2 separate regions of the Homo sapiens genome follow, and region 2 is linked to region 1. Evidence: promoter capture Hi-C in 16 types of primary human blood cells and fetal thymus (Javierre and others, 2016). All regions are on one chromosome and are shown on one strand. The core of a region is centred on a gene start or on the middle of the fragment in contact, and the rest is flanking DNA. Distances in the headings are between cores, read along the strand shown.

What was found. The method cuts DNA at HindIII sites, captures the fragments that hold promoters and counts their contacts. A CHiCAGO score of 5 or more calls a contact.
Region 2: a contact is called between a fragment that was not itself captured here and the fragment with the promoter of POLG in region 1, in 1 of 17 cell types (activated CD4 T cells). The highest score is 5.0, in activated CD4 T cells.

Annotation. Positions count from the first base shown.
Region 1 is chr15:89,333,574-89,338,902 of GRCh38, reverse strand. POLG (DNA polymerase gamma, catalytic subunit) reads left to right here and starts at 4,079. Exons shown (of 23, transcript NM_002693.3): 1 at 4,079-4,230; 2 at 4,990-5,329. The coding sequence starts at 5,149. It overlaps POLGARF (POLG alternative reading frame), which reads left to right and starts at 5,094. Exons shown (of 2, transcript NM_001430120.1): 1 at 5,094-5,329. The coding sequence starts at 5,094. It overlaps POLG-DT (POLG divergent transcript), which reads right to left and starts at 4,416. Exons shown (of 2, transcript NR_186332.1): 1 at 4,049-4,416; 2 at 2,742-3,716. It overlaps TRR-TCG1-1 (tRNA-Arg (anticodon TCG) 1-1), which reads right to left and starts at 3,830; the gene lies at 3,758-3,830. RefSeq lists silencers at 1,894-2,063, 4,021-4,620 and enhancers at 2,871-2,920, 3,261-3,330, 3,341-3,440, 4,310-4,811. The HindIII fragment of the contact is 8,583 bases long and covers 1-5,329 here.
Region 2 is chr15:88,901,436-88,907,083 of GRCh38, reverse strand. It overlaps MFGE8 (milk fat globule EGF and factor V/VIII domain containing), which reads left to right. Exons shown (of 8, transcript NM_005928.4): 4 at 306-458; 5 at 1,183-1,327; 6 at 5,349-5,533. Among named protein-coding and RNA genes, the nearest start is that of HAPLN3, 8.7 kb to the right of the region's middle. RefSeq lists an enhancer at 1-188 and a silencer at 2,050-2,239. The HindIII fragment of the contact is 4,744 bases long and covers 1-3,658 here.

The sequences.
Region 1 (5,329 bases), core at 2,830-5,329:
TCACATTCTCATTTTTTTCTTTTTATAAGTTTTATTTATTTTTAATTTTTTTTAGAGATGAAGGTCTTGCTATATTGCCCAGGCTAGACTGGAACTGCTGGGCTCAAGTGATCCTCCCATCTCAGCCTCCTGAGTAGCTGGGAATACAGGTACATACTGCCACACCCAGCCAGTTTTAAAAAAAATTCTTTATCTTTTTTAGAAATGGGGGTCTTGCTGTGTTGGCCAGGTTGGTCTTGAACTCCTGCCTCAAGCTATTTTCCTGCCTTGGCCTCCCAAAGTGCTGGGATTGCAGGCATTAGCCACCATGCTTCACACTTCTTACTTCACACTTCTTACTGGAGTCTATCTTCTCTCATCTGTAAAATGAATAATAACAGCACCTACTTTATGGGGTCATTGAAATGATTAAATAAAATGGTGCTCTAAAGCGTTCAGCCTGGTTCATTTGCAAGTGGTAGCTGTTGATAAAGGAAGAGTGGTGATATTTTCTGTCTGTGGCAGAAATTGCTGGAGTTGGGCTTGGCAAACCTGAGAGAAGACCATGAAAGTCACCAGGAAGTAAGCACACGAGAGGGACTCTGGAGGAGCAGGCTGTCACCTGAGGGCCCCTTACTTAGTCAGCAGCAGTGATGTAGGAGGCCACATCAGTGTGCACGTGCAGCGCCTGGCACACAGTTGTGCAGTAGGGATCCTCTGCTAGCATCATAAAGCCAGTATTTGCCGTGTAGTGCAGTTGCTGAGATCCTGGTTTCCATGAATTCAAATCCCAGCTCTACCAATGACCAGCTATAGGGCTTTAGGCAAGCTGCTTCGCCTCTCTGTGCCTTAGTTTCCTCATGGGTGAAAGGGGATAACGGTACCTCTATCCAAGGGTCGATGTGAGGATTCACTTAAGTGACATATGTGAGCCCTTAGAACAGCACCTGGCAGCTAGCAAGTGCCGGTTATTACCAAGCTCCAGGCAGGTCCTGGAATTGAGCTCAAAATAAGACACAAGGTCAGTCCCTATGGGCATTTACAGCAGTGGAAGGGGGAGATTTTTAAAAAATCATCATTAGTTACAACTGAGGTACATGCTTTGAAAGTACAGGGTGTTCTGGCCCAGCGCAGTGACTCAAGCCTGTAATCCCAGAACTCTGGGAGGCCAAGGCGGGTGGATCACTTGAGGCCAGGAGTTCCAGACCAGCCTGGCCAACATGGTGAAACCAGTCTCTACTAAAAATACAAAAATTAGATCCACATGGTGGCACACACCTGTAATCCCAGCTACTCCGGAGGCTGAGGCACGAGAATCGCTTGAACCTGGGAGGTGGAGGCTGCAGTGAGCTGAGATCACGCCTCTGCACTCCAGCCTGGGCACAGAGCAAGACTCTGTCTCAGAAGAAGAAGAAGAAAAAAAGTACGGAGTGTTTTGATGAGGACAGGGGTCCTAATGAACTTTGCCTCTTGCTCTGTGGGGGGAGAGGTCCAGGGAATTGTGGGAAAATGTAACTGTTTCTCAGGAACCACTATCAAGGACAGACTTTTCTAGAAGGACGTGGGGGAGTTCCTAGAAAAGGAGGCAGGGGAAGTGGAGGAGCTGGGTTCAGAAAGGCCTGGAAACAGGGTGTAGCCTGGCAGGAAGGGTGCAGGCCTCCAGGTACCCTCCCTCAGCAGGAATCAGTATCAACCGTTTTTGTCCTTGTTGAAGATTCTAATTCCAGGACCAGGGCACTAGGCTAGTCTCAAGTAGTCTATGGGAGGAGCAGGCATCTTGATGGACATCTCCTGAGACTGAATCTCAGGAGAGGCCAATCAGGCCCAGCAACAGCAGCCCCTGTGGACAGTTGGGCCAGGGGTTCTTAGCTTTTTTGTGTCATAGACACCTTCTTAGAATAGTGTGTTTCTTTCTTTCTTTTTTTTCTTTTTTTTGTTGTTGTTGTTGTTTTGGTGGGGAGTGGGGAGATGGAGTCTCACTCTGCTGCCCAGACTGGAGTGCCATGGTGCAATCTCGGCTCACTGCAGACTCTGCCCCCCGGGTTCAAGAGGTTCTCCTCCCTCAACCTCCCAAGTAGCTGGGATTACAGGCGTGCACCACCATGCCGGGCTAAGTTTTGTATTTTTTTGGTAGAGATGGGGTTTCGCCATGTTGGCCAGACTGGTCTTCAACTCCTGAGCTCAGGCAATCCATCCACCTCAGCCTCCCAAAGTGCTGGGATTACAGGCGTGAGCCACTGAACCTGGCCTAGAGTAGTGTTTCTGTTTTTAATTTTTTTCTGTGAAATATGTTTTATTAATTTTTATTTCAATAGGGGTACAGGCAGTTTTTGGTTATATGGAAGAATAGTGTTTTTAAGCACATAAAACATGAAGGATTACAAAGGACACCAAAGGTATTCAAATATTAGGACAAATAGGTAAACTTATTAACTAACAGGATCTAGTGGCAGTCTAGTAACCCCTGTTATTTTGAAGTACAGATAAGTGCAAACAAATTTTGAAAAATGTGCAGCACTTGTAATGCGTTATGAAAATATCTGTGGTTGCTGGAGGGGACAAAGTCACAGGCACTGTTAATACCACTGTGGCTGACAGCCTATGCTCATAATTGGAGGAAATGCCAAGTATCAGTAGGCGGTTAGAAGAAACAAGATGAAAATGTTTTCCCCATTCAGGGACTCCCTGATTTAAGCTGAGAGCCTCTCCTTCCAGTATTTTGTAAAAGTCAACAGTTATGTGAAAAAAAAAAAAAAAACAGATGAATTTCTGATTGATTGTATTTTTTTGGCAAAACAAAAAAATCACAAACATTAAAACATTGTGTATATTAAGTACATCTAGAAAAGTGTATGCAAAATATTTCATATTTAAATAGAAGGGACCAGGGCTCAATGCTGCTTGGCCCGGGGCTTCTCTCTACCTCTCCACGTGGCGGGAGCAGGTGAGGGTCGGCATCAGCCCGCAGGGCCGGCGGAGGATTGTTTCCCTGCACCCCACTCCTTAAAAACGCGAAAGTCAACTTCTGTAGTCCGTTCACGGTGTCCTGGGATCCACGCTGGACGGTGGCGGCCGACTTTCAGCTTGACCTGAATTTTATTCCTAATCAGCTGTGTGATCTCGGTTGGTCCCAAACGTCTCTGAGCCTCCCTTTCATCTGTGCAGCTGGGCCTCCAGACCCCAACCCCCAGGCGGTGCTTAATCACGTAGACCTTATTCTGCGTGCACTTTACCACAGTTCACCAACCACCGAGCGCTGAGAGCTGTTGAAGCACCTGGAGCAACACAAGACGGATGCGGAGACTGGAAACAGCTGGGGAAGGGGACAAGCTCCAGCCGCGCTGTGGGCCGGAGGCTAGCATCTGCGGGCAAATTCAGGTTCAACGGAAGGCAACATTTTTACCCCTCAGAATTGCTCTGGACGAGGAGGCAGCACCGGATGGGCGAGGGAGGGAGCCTCGCTTTGGCTGCGAGCCCCAACTCTTGCCAACCATCAATTGAGTATAAATTGAGATTTCTGTACAGGATGCCCCTCCCTCTCCACTTTCCTCCACCTGCGTCGGGGTGCGAGAGACCTGGTACATTTTAGAAATGTGCCTCCGCTGAGACACGTAGGCGGGCAATCTCGCAGGGACTTGCTGGGCGTGGTTACTTCCGCGGATCTTGGCGTTCCCACATCTTTGAAGTGCGGTGGGAATCGGCGGCGACTACGTTCACATTGTCCCAATACTTCGTTCCTGAGGGAGGAATAAACTAAAAGTTAATCATAACCTCCCTTCGACCGCGGCAGGACTCGAACCTGCAATCTTCTGATCCGAAGTCAGACGCCTTATCCATTAGGCCACGCGGCCCGTCGGTTGTTACCGTCTCTTGAGCAACTTATAAAAACGTCACCTCCGCCCACCAGCTAGCTCGGGACCAATCCACCTGCTCCTTGAGAAGGGGAGGTTGGCCTTTGGTTCGCGCGTTCCGCAGGGAGAGCCCACCCAGAAGTCCCCCTTCTCCCCCCGCGGGCGGACCGCTCCATTGGCGGCCCTCCTATTGGTCGCGCTGGGAGTCTCCCGCTTGCCTCTCGGGTAGCCGCGGGACCTAGCTGGGTGCAGACGGGAAGTTGCGGCTGCCAGCGAAGCGGACCGGCCGGGTGGAGGCCACACGCTACCCCGAGGCTGCGTAGGCCGCGCGAAGGGGGACGCCGTGCCGTGGGCCTGGGGTCGGGGGAGCAGCAGACCGGGAAGCACCGTGAGGACCGAGGTTTCCGGCGGGGTCGGCGGCGGGGAGGCCGGGTCGCTGAGCGACGGCGCGGCCCCTCCCTCTCCAGTCAGGGAGCGAGGCCCGGAGCAGGGCGGCGGCTAGTCCCAGGGCGCACCGCGGCGCCTCTGCCGGGCGCAGGCGGGCGGCGGGGCGCACGGGGGTGGCCGCCGACTCCTCCTGCAGGACGCTCTCGGCCGGGTGGGCCGTGGTCCGGGTGTGGGTGTGGGTCCCGGGGGACGGCGGCCCACCCTGCGGGTTCGAATCCGGGCGCTGGCACCTCTCGACGCTAGGCCCGCGCCGGTCGCGGTAATGGCAGCCACCATTTGCCGAGCGCTTGCCAAGAGCAGGGCCGCACGACATAGGCGCCCTGTGTCCCCCAGACAGCAGCCCGGTGTGACAGGCAGAATCCGTAATCCCATTTTACAGAATAGGATATCAGGGCCTAAGGAGCTTTGCCCAAGGTCACACAGCTCGAGAGAGCCAGAAGCGGGGTTCAAAACCGCGTCGCCCTACTCCAGATACTGCTCTCTTACTCGCTGCCCTCGGCTTCCCCACGTGGGTTCACTGACGAAGTTGCGTGGACCCCGGTTCCCCCAGGAGGGGTATTGACGTTTCCCAAGTTTTGAGGCTTAACGGAAAATGCAACTGAAGCGCCTGGCACAGTGTTGGGGACGCAGTAAATGCTCAAGGAATGATGATTATGGATACACCTATTACATATATGGTAAAATAACGCTTTATATCATCTGTCTCCTTTAGGATTTGGGGTGGAAGGCAGGCATGGTCAAACCCATTTCACTGACAGGAGAGCAGAGACAGGACGTGTCTCTCTCCACGTCTTCCAGCCAGTAAAAGAAGCCAAGCTGGAGCCCAAAGCCAGGTGTTCTGACTCCCAGCGTGGGGGTCCCTGCACCAACCATGAGCCGCCTGCTCTGGAGGAAGGTGGCCGGCGCCACCGTCGGGCCAGGGCCGGTTCCAGCTCCGGGGCGCTGGGTCTCCAGCTCCGTCCCCGCGTCCGACCCCAGCGACGGGCAGCGGCGGCGGCAGCAGCAGCAGCAGCAGCAGCAGCAGCAGCAACAGCAGCCTCAGCAGCCGCAAG
Region 2 (5,648 bases), core at 37-2,536, 430 kb after region 1:
TAACAGGTTCCCATGGATGAAGTATCTGTAAGTGGATGGCATCCCTGGAGGAACCTGGTATGGGGTCAAGGTGAGGGGGGAGGAGGCCCCAGGCTGTGGAGGAGCTGTTGGTGCTGGATGAGGCCTCTGGAGGCCTGGGCAGAAGAAGAAAGCCCTTTGTGCGGGCAGTGTGCTCAGCTACCCCTCCTCTGTTTTGCTTGAGTTGTTCCCCCACCCAGTGGGGGAGTGAAGGGATGGGTCTGCTTGGATCTTGAGTGGAAAGAACCCAGGAGATAAGGGTGCCATCTCCCCTGCCCTGTGTCCAGGTGAACCTGCTGCGGAGGATGTGGGTAACAGGTGTGGTGACGCAGGGTGCCAGCCGCTTGGCCAGTCATGAGTACCTGAAGGCCTTCAAGGTGGCCTACAGCCTTAATGGACACGAATTCGATTTCATCCATGATGTTAATAAAAAACACAAGGTAGGTCTTGTTGGGGCCCGAAAGAAGGGCTGTGGTCCATACCCCCTAAGGTTCTAGCATTGACTGAGGACCCCCAGCGAGTCCAGAGAACCCTAGGTGATTGGCTATGATGTGGGTCTTCGGGTGCATCTTGGCTTCTAGAAATTGGGAAACCCAGACTGTGTCCATGTTCTGTGGTTTATAAGCAATAGTCCCACTTTAGAGATGAGACTAGTGAGATTCAAAATGGCACAGTGACCTGTTGAGGGTGATAGTGGTGGTGGAGCTGGGTTTCATTCTGAGCCTTCATGGGTACATGTACAGTTGTGTAGGTTGTACACTGCTCAAGGATGTCATTGCTAAGCAGGCACCATTCACAGTACAGGCATTGTACATTTGTGGAACTCTGTCAGAAAATTGTCATAATAAACTATTTGAGAAAGGAGTGCCTTTTCCTAATTTGCAAAGAGGTACCCTGTAGGTTACAGGTGGCCCTGTGTCAGCTATAGGGGTTTATGCCCAGGCTCCATGATGATTAAGGAAAGTGAGAGGAGAATCTTTGTGGAGGGCCGTGGGGTGGCCAAAGGAGAGGCTGCTGTGTGAGCCTCTGCTGGCTCTTCCAAGTCCTCTTCACCCTCCCAGCCCCACCTCTGCCTCCCAGGTCTGAAGAGGAAGATGAGGTAACCCCAGGGAGGGGGACTGCTCAGATGGACCCCCTTCTCCAGTCTTGTCCCTTCCCTGCTAGGAGTTTGTGGGTAACTGGAACAAAAACGCGGTGCATGTCAACCTGTTTGAGACCCCTGTGGAGGCTCAGTACGTGAGATTGTACCCCACGAGCTGCCACACGGCCTGCACTCTGCGCTTTGAGCTACTGGGCTGTGAGCTGAACGGTGAGTGCTGGGGGTGCGGGTAGGGGGGCACTGTTGGCCAATCCTAGGAGGTGGCCCTCCCTGCTGCCTCTTTTCTCAGCCAAACTGAGCTAGGTAGGGCAGCAACAAGGCACGGGGACCAGGCTTCACTCGGGCAACGCACTCTAGGGGGTCACCTGGCCATAGCAGCCCCACCCAGGTGTTTGCTGTCTGCCAACCCATGACCCAGGGCATTCTGATTGATAGAGAAAAAGACATCAGTTTTCAAAGTATTTTCCCTTCTTCTGGTTGGCTCCTCTCCTGTAGCTTCTAGAACATGTAGCGTTAGGTGTGTTTGGCAGATGTCAGCTTTACGAGGGCAGAGAATCTGTCTGTTTTGTTTGCTTCGGTATTCCCAGGGCCTAGAATGGTGTCTGGTTTATAGGTACTCAATAAATATTTGATGAATGAGCGAATGAATGAATGAGGGGCGTGGGGCCCCGATGAATGATTTATTAAGGGTACACATCTGGTAGGTATTAAGACTTGGTCTAGATCTCTGGGCTCCCGACCACACCCATCCAGAGCTTTCCCTGCCAAACTCTTAAGAGTCTGCACTCCAGAGAAACACAGGGGCTTCTTGGACCACAGGGCTTGGAGCTGGTGCTTCCTGCTGCCTTTTCCAAAGAGATTCCCAGATGAAGAGCTGGGGAGACCATAAAGGGACAGATTTCTGCAGAGCCAGGGGACAGCCTGGGCGAGGTCAGAGTGCCGGGTTTGGGCTGACAGACATTAATTGTCTCAGCCCAGCTCAACCCAGCTTTCCTGAGGTCTGGGTATTTCTCTCTCTTTGCAGCCACAATGCCACCTGCTGGCCATCAGTGGAACTGTAGGGCTCGCTAAGCAGAGCTGCAGAGTGGAGGTTCTTATCTTACCCGCTGGCCTTTTGATCTTACCTGCCCTCCTGTGCCCCGCCTTTCCCCTCTGTGACACCTCTTCCTGTTGTCTCATTTCAGACACCACCCAAATACCCCTCAGAGCTGAGTTCAGTGCCTGGCTGGGTTCAGTGTTTTTAGTATGAACTTGAGTAGGTATGCTTCCTCCACCAGGGGCCCTTTTGAGCCGTATTGTTTCAGTGGGGAGTATAAGACTTTGCCTTCTGCTAGAAGGAAATGTAGGCTACTGGGAAAGGACAGAGCCAGGTCTGTGTGCCTCTCCCTGGAGTCCCTGACACTTGCTGTTTTGGCTTGAAGCCTTTGGCCATTAAAGTTGCCTGTATCCAGGCATGACTGGCCCCTGCTCAGGGCCAAGAGAGGGTGAGTCTTGCAAACCAAGGAAGCCCAGGTACCCTGTCTGCTTCCTTCAGGGTCTGGACCACTCCTTTCCCTATAGGCCTTCCAGTCGGCTGGAGAGTGTTGGTGCATGTGTGCATGTGTGCACGTGTGCATGTGTGTGGGTGGGGCTGAGGTCTGGGGGTACCTGGGATTCCACAAGGGATTCCTCTTTGCAGACATATGGTGTCTTTGGTAAATTAATTATTTAATTCGATGGATGTTTATTAAGATATTGATTAAGCCCCTCCTGGGTGCTTGGCTCTAGGGAATGATTCCTTGACCTCATGTAATTTGCATTGTAGCAAGGAAGGCAGACTTGAGGCGAGGAGCAGATGACAGAGAGCAGTAACAGCTCTGAAGAAAAGCTAGAGGCTGATGAGATGACCATGACTTGGGGTGAGGGGAGAGAGCAAGACAAGGACTGCTCTGTCGGGAAGGCCTTTGACTGGGGGCCTGAATGATGGAGAGCCAGCCACATGAAAAACTTAAAAACAGCACTGCAAAAAGAGCACTGCAGGCAAGGAATTGGTAAATGCAAAGGCCCTGGGGCATGTTGAAGGGTGGAAGGAAGGCCAGTGGAGCTGGAGCCAAGAGATGGAGGGGCAGCTTGGTGGGTGAAGAGCCCCAGGGACCCGCAGTGTCATCACCTAGGAGCTTCTTAGAAATGCAGACTGAGGCCGGGTGCGGTGGCTCACGCCTGTAATCCCAGCACTTTGGGAGGCCGAGGCGAGCGGATCACCTGAGGTCAGGAGATCAAGACCAGCTTGGCCAACATGGCGAAGCCCCGTCTCTACTAAAAAAATACAAAAATTAGCCAGGCGTGGTGGCAGGTGCCTGTAATCCCAGCTACTAGGGAGGCTGAGGCAGGATAATTGCCTGAACCCGGTCAGAAGGTGGAGGTTGCAGTGAGCCGAGATCATGCCACTGCACTCCAGCCTGGGTGACAGAGCGAGACTGTGTCTCAAACAAACAAACAAAAAAACAAAAAAAAAGAAATACAGACTGAAAGCCCCAGCCTAGACTTGCTGAAACATAAGCTTTTTTTTTTTATATCAAGATCCCCAGGTGATCTGTGAGAATTACTCCCCTAGTATCTCATTTTATAGATGGGGAGACTGAGAGCCAGAGAGAGGAAGGGACTTCCTAGAGTGCTGGAGCTGACAGTCCTGTCCCTGCCCTGGTGCCCCTTCCAACTGCATTTTACCAGAAAGGCTGTCTGACTTCCTGGGGAGGCTGAGAGTGAGGAGGGTATGAACCACTAGAAGCAGATGATCTGTAGAGGGGTCTGCGTTGAGCACATTGTGCAGAATTGGTGTCCTCTGCAAAGCTGCCCAGGTTTTAGCCTGCCTCAGGCCTCTCCTCTTCTGGGGCCAAGGGACAACCAGCTCTCAGCCCGGGAGCCTCTCTTTGAGGGGGAAGGTGGTGGTTCCCTGGTGCATCACCATCAGGAGATGATGGTACCATCAGCAGGCATTGTCAACACACCCTGGAGGCAAATGTCTTGAGTGGTGAGAGTACAGGTGGGCAGTGATATAACTTAGCTGGCTCCCAGTACTCTTGAGTGGTGAGAGTATTGGAGGGCAGTGATATAACTTAGCTGGCTCCCAGAGGGCAGGGGGCTCTCCAGTCCCACCGTCCACTCCTGCCTCCCTCAATTCCCCAGAGGGATAGACACTTGTGGAGTGAGGATTCTTCCAGGTGGGAGACACCCCCATCATTCTCTTGGGAGTTGTATCTCTTGCCCATCCCCAACTGTTCTATCCATATGCAGGTGCAGATACAAGTGCAAGGCAGCCCGGCACATTCCTGAGTGTTTGGGGCAGGGCTGAGTGAAACAAAGGCCAGCTTCCCGGGCCAGCCCTCACAGGCCTGTGTGACAGCATCCCCAGAACATTTGAGTGTGCGAAGGCCCTCTGGGAGACACTAAGTCAGGGGGCTTCTGGGGAATGGAAATAGAGATGTTCCTGTGCCCCAGGAGTTGTCTGATTTCTCTAACTGCCAGCTGCTGGAGGGCAGGGATGTTGTCCTGTTCATCACTGGGTCGTCACTAGGCAGGCCTTCATCATCTAGCTGGGATGTGTAGCTGGTAGAGGTGACGTCATAGTGTGACATTAGGAGTTTGTATGTGACTTGAGCATGATGCTTAATGTCTTTCAGTTTTCTCATCTATAGAATGGGCTTACTAATTTCTACTTCATTTAGTGTTTTTTTTTCTTTTTTTTTTTGGTGGCAGGTTAAATGACTGAAGTAAGCACTGAATAAACAATGTGGTTGTTATTAAAGTAGATAGTGACTGTGCCATGGGACGGATGGGAGGCCGAGGCGATGGGGGCAGTGCTGTGAGTCCAGAAGAGGAAGAAATCCTGCCCAAGTGAAGTAGTCAGGGCAGACTTCTTGGAGGAGGTGTCTCCAAAGTCAGGCATTGAAGGAGGGCAGGAGGTGGTGGAGCAGGGGCCTTCCCTGGTGCAGAGGAGAAGGGTGGTGAGTGGGAGGTCTTGGGTGATCTGTGAGGAGCTGAGCCCGGCTGGTTGAGGTGAGGAGGTGGTGGGGTCGGCAGTGAGAAGGTCGCACAGTTGGCCCTGCAAGGCGGATGGAGCTGCTTTCTGTTGCCCAAGAGCATGACAGGGGCTGGTCAGGATCCACAGAGTTCTTTCTGCTTCATCGCCTTGTGCTCCTGCCCCTGGGAGCTGTGGATCCCAGATCCAGATGACAGCCCACCTTGCTGGCAGGATGCGCCAATCCCCTGGGCCTGAAGAATAACAGCATCCCTGACAAGCAGATCACGGCCTCCAGCAGCTACAAGACCTGGGGCTTGCATCTCTTCAGCTGGAACCCCTCCTATGCACGGCTGGACAAGCAGGGCAACTTCAACGCCTGGGTTGCGGGGAGCTACGGTAACGATCAGTGGCTGCAGGTGGGTCAGCCTTCTTGGGATATGGGGCTGGGGTTGGGTGGGATGAGGTGGGACTGCCAGATCTTTGACCTCTCTCCAGCCCAGGCTTCTCTTCTGCTCCCCAAAAGAGTTCTGG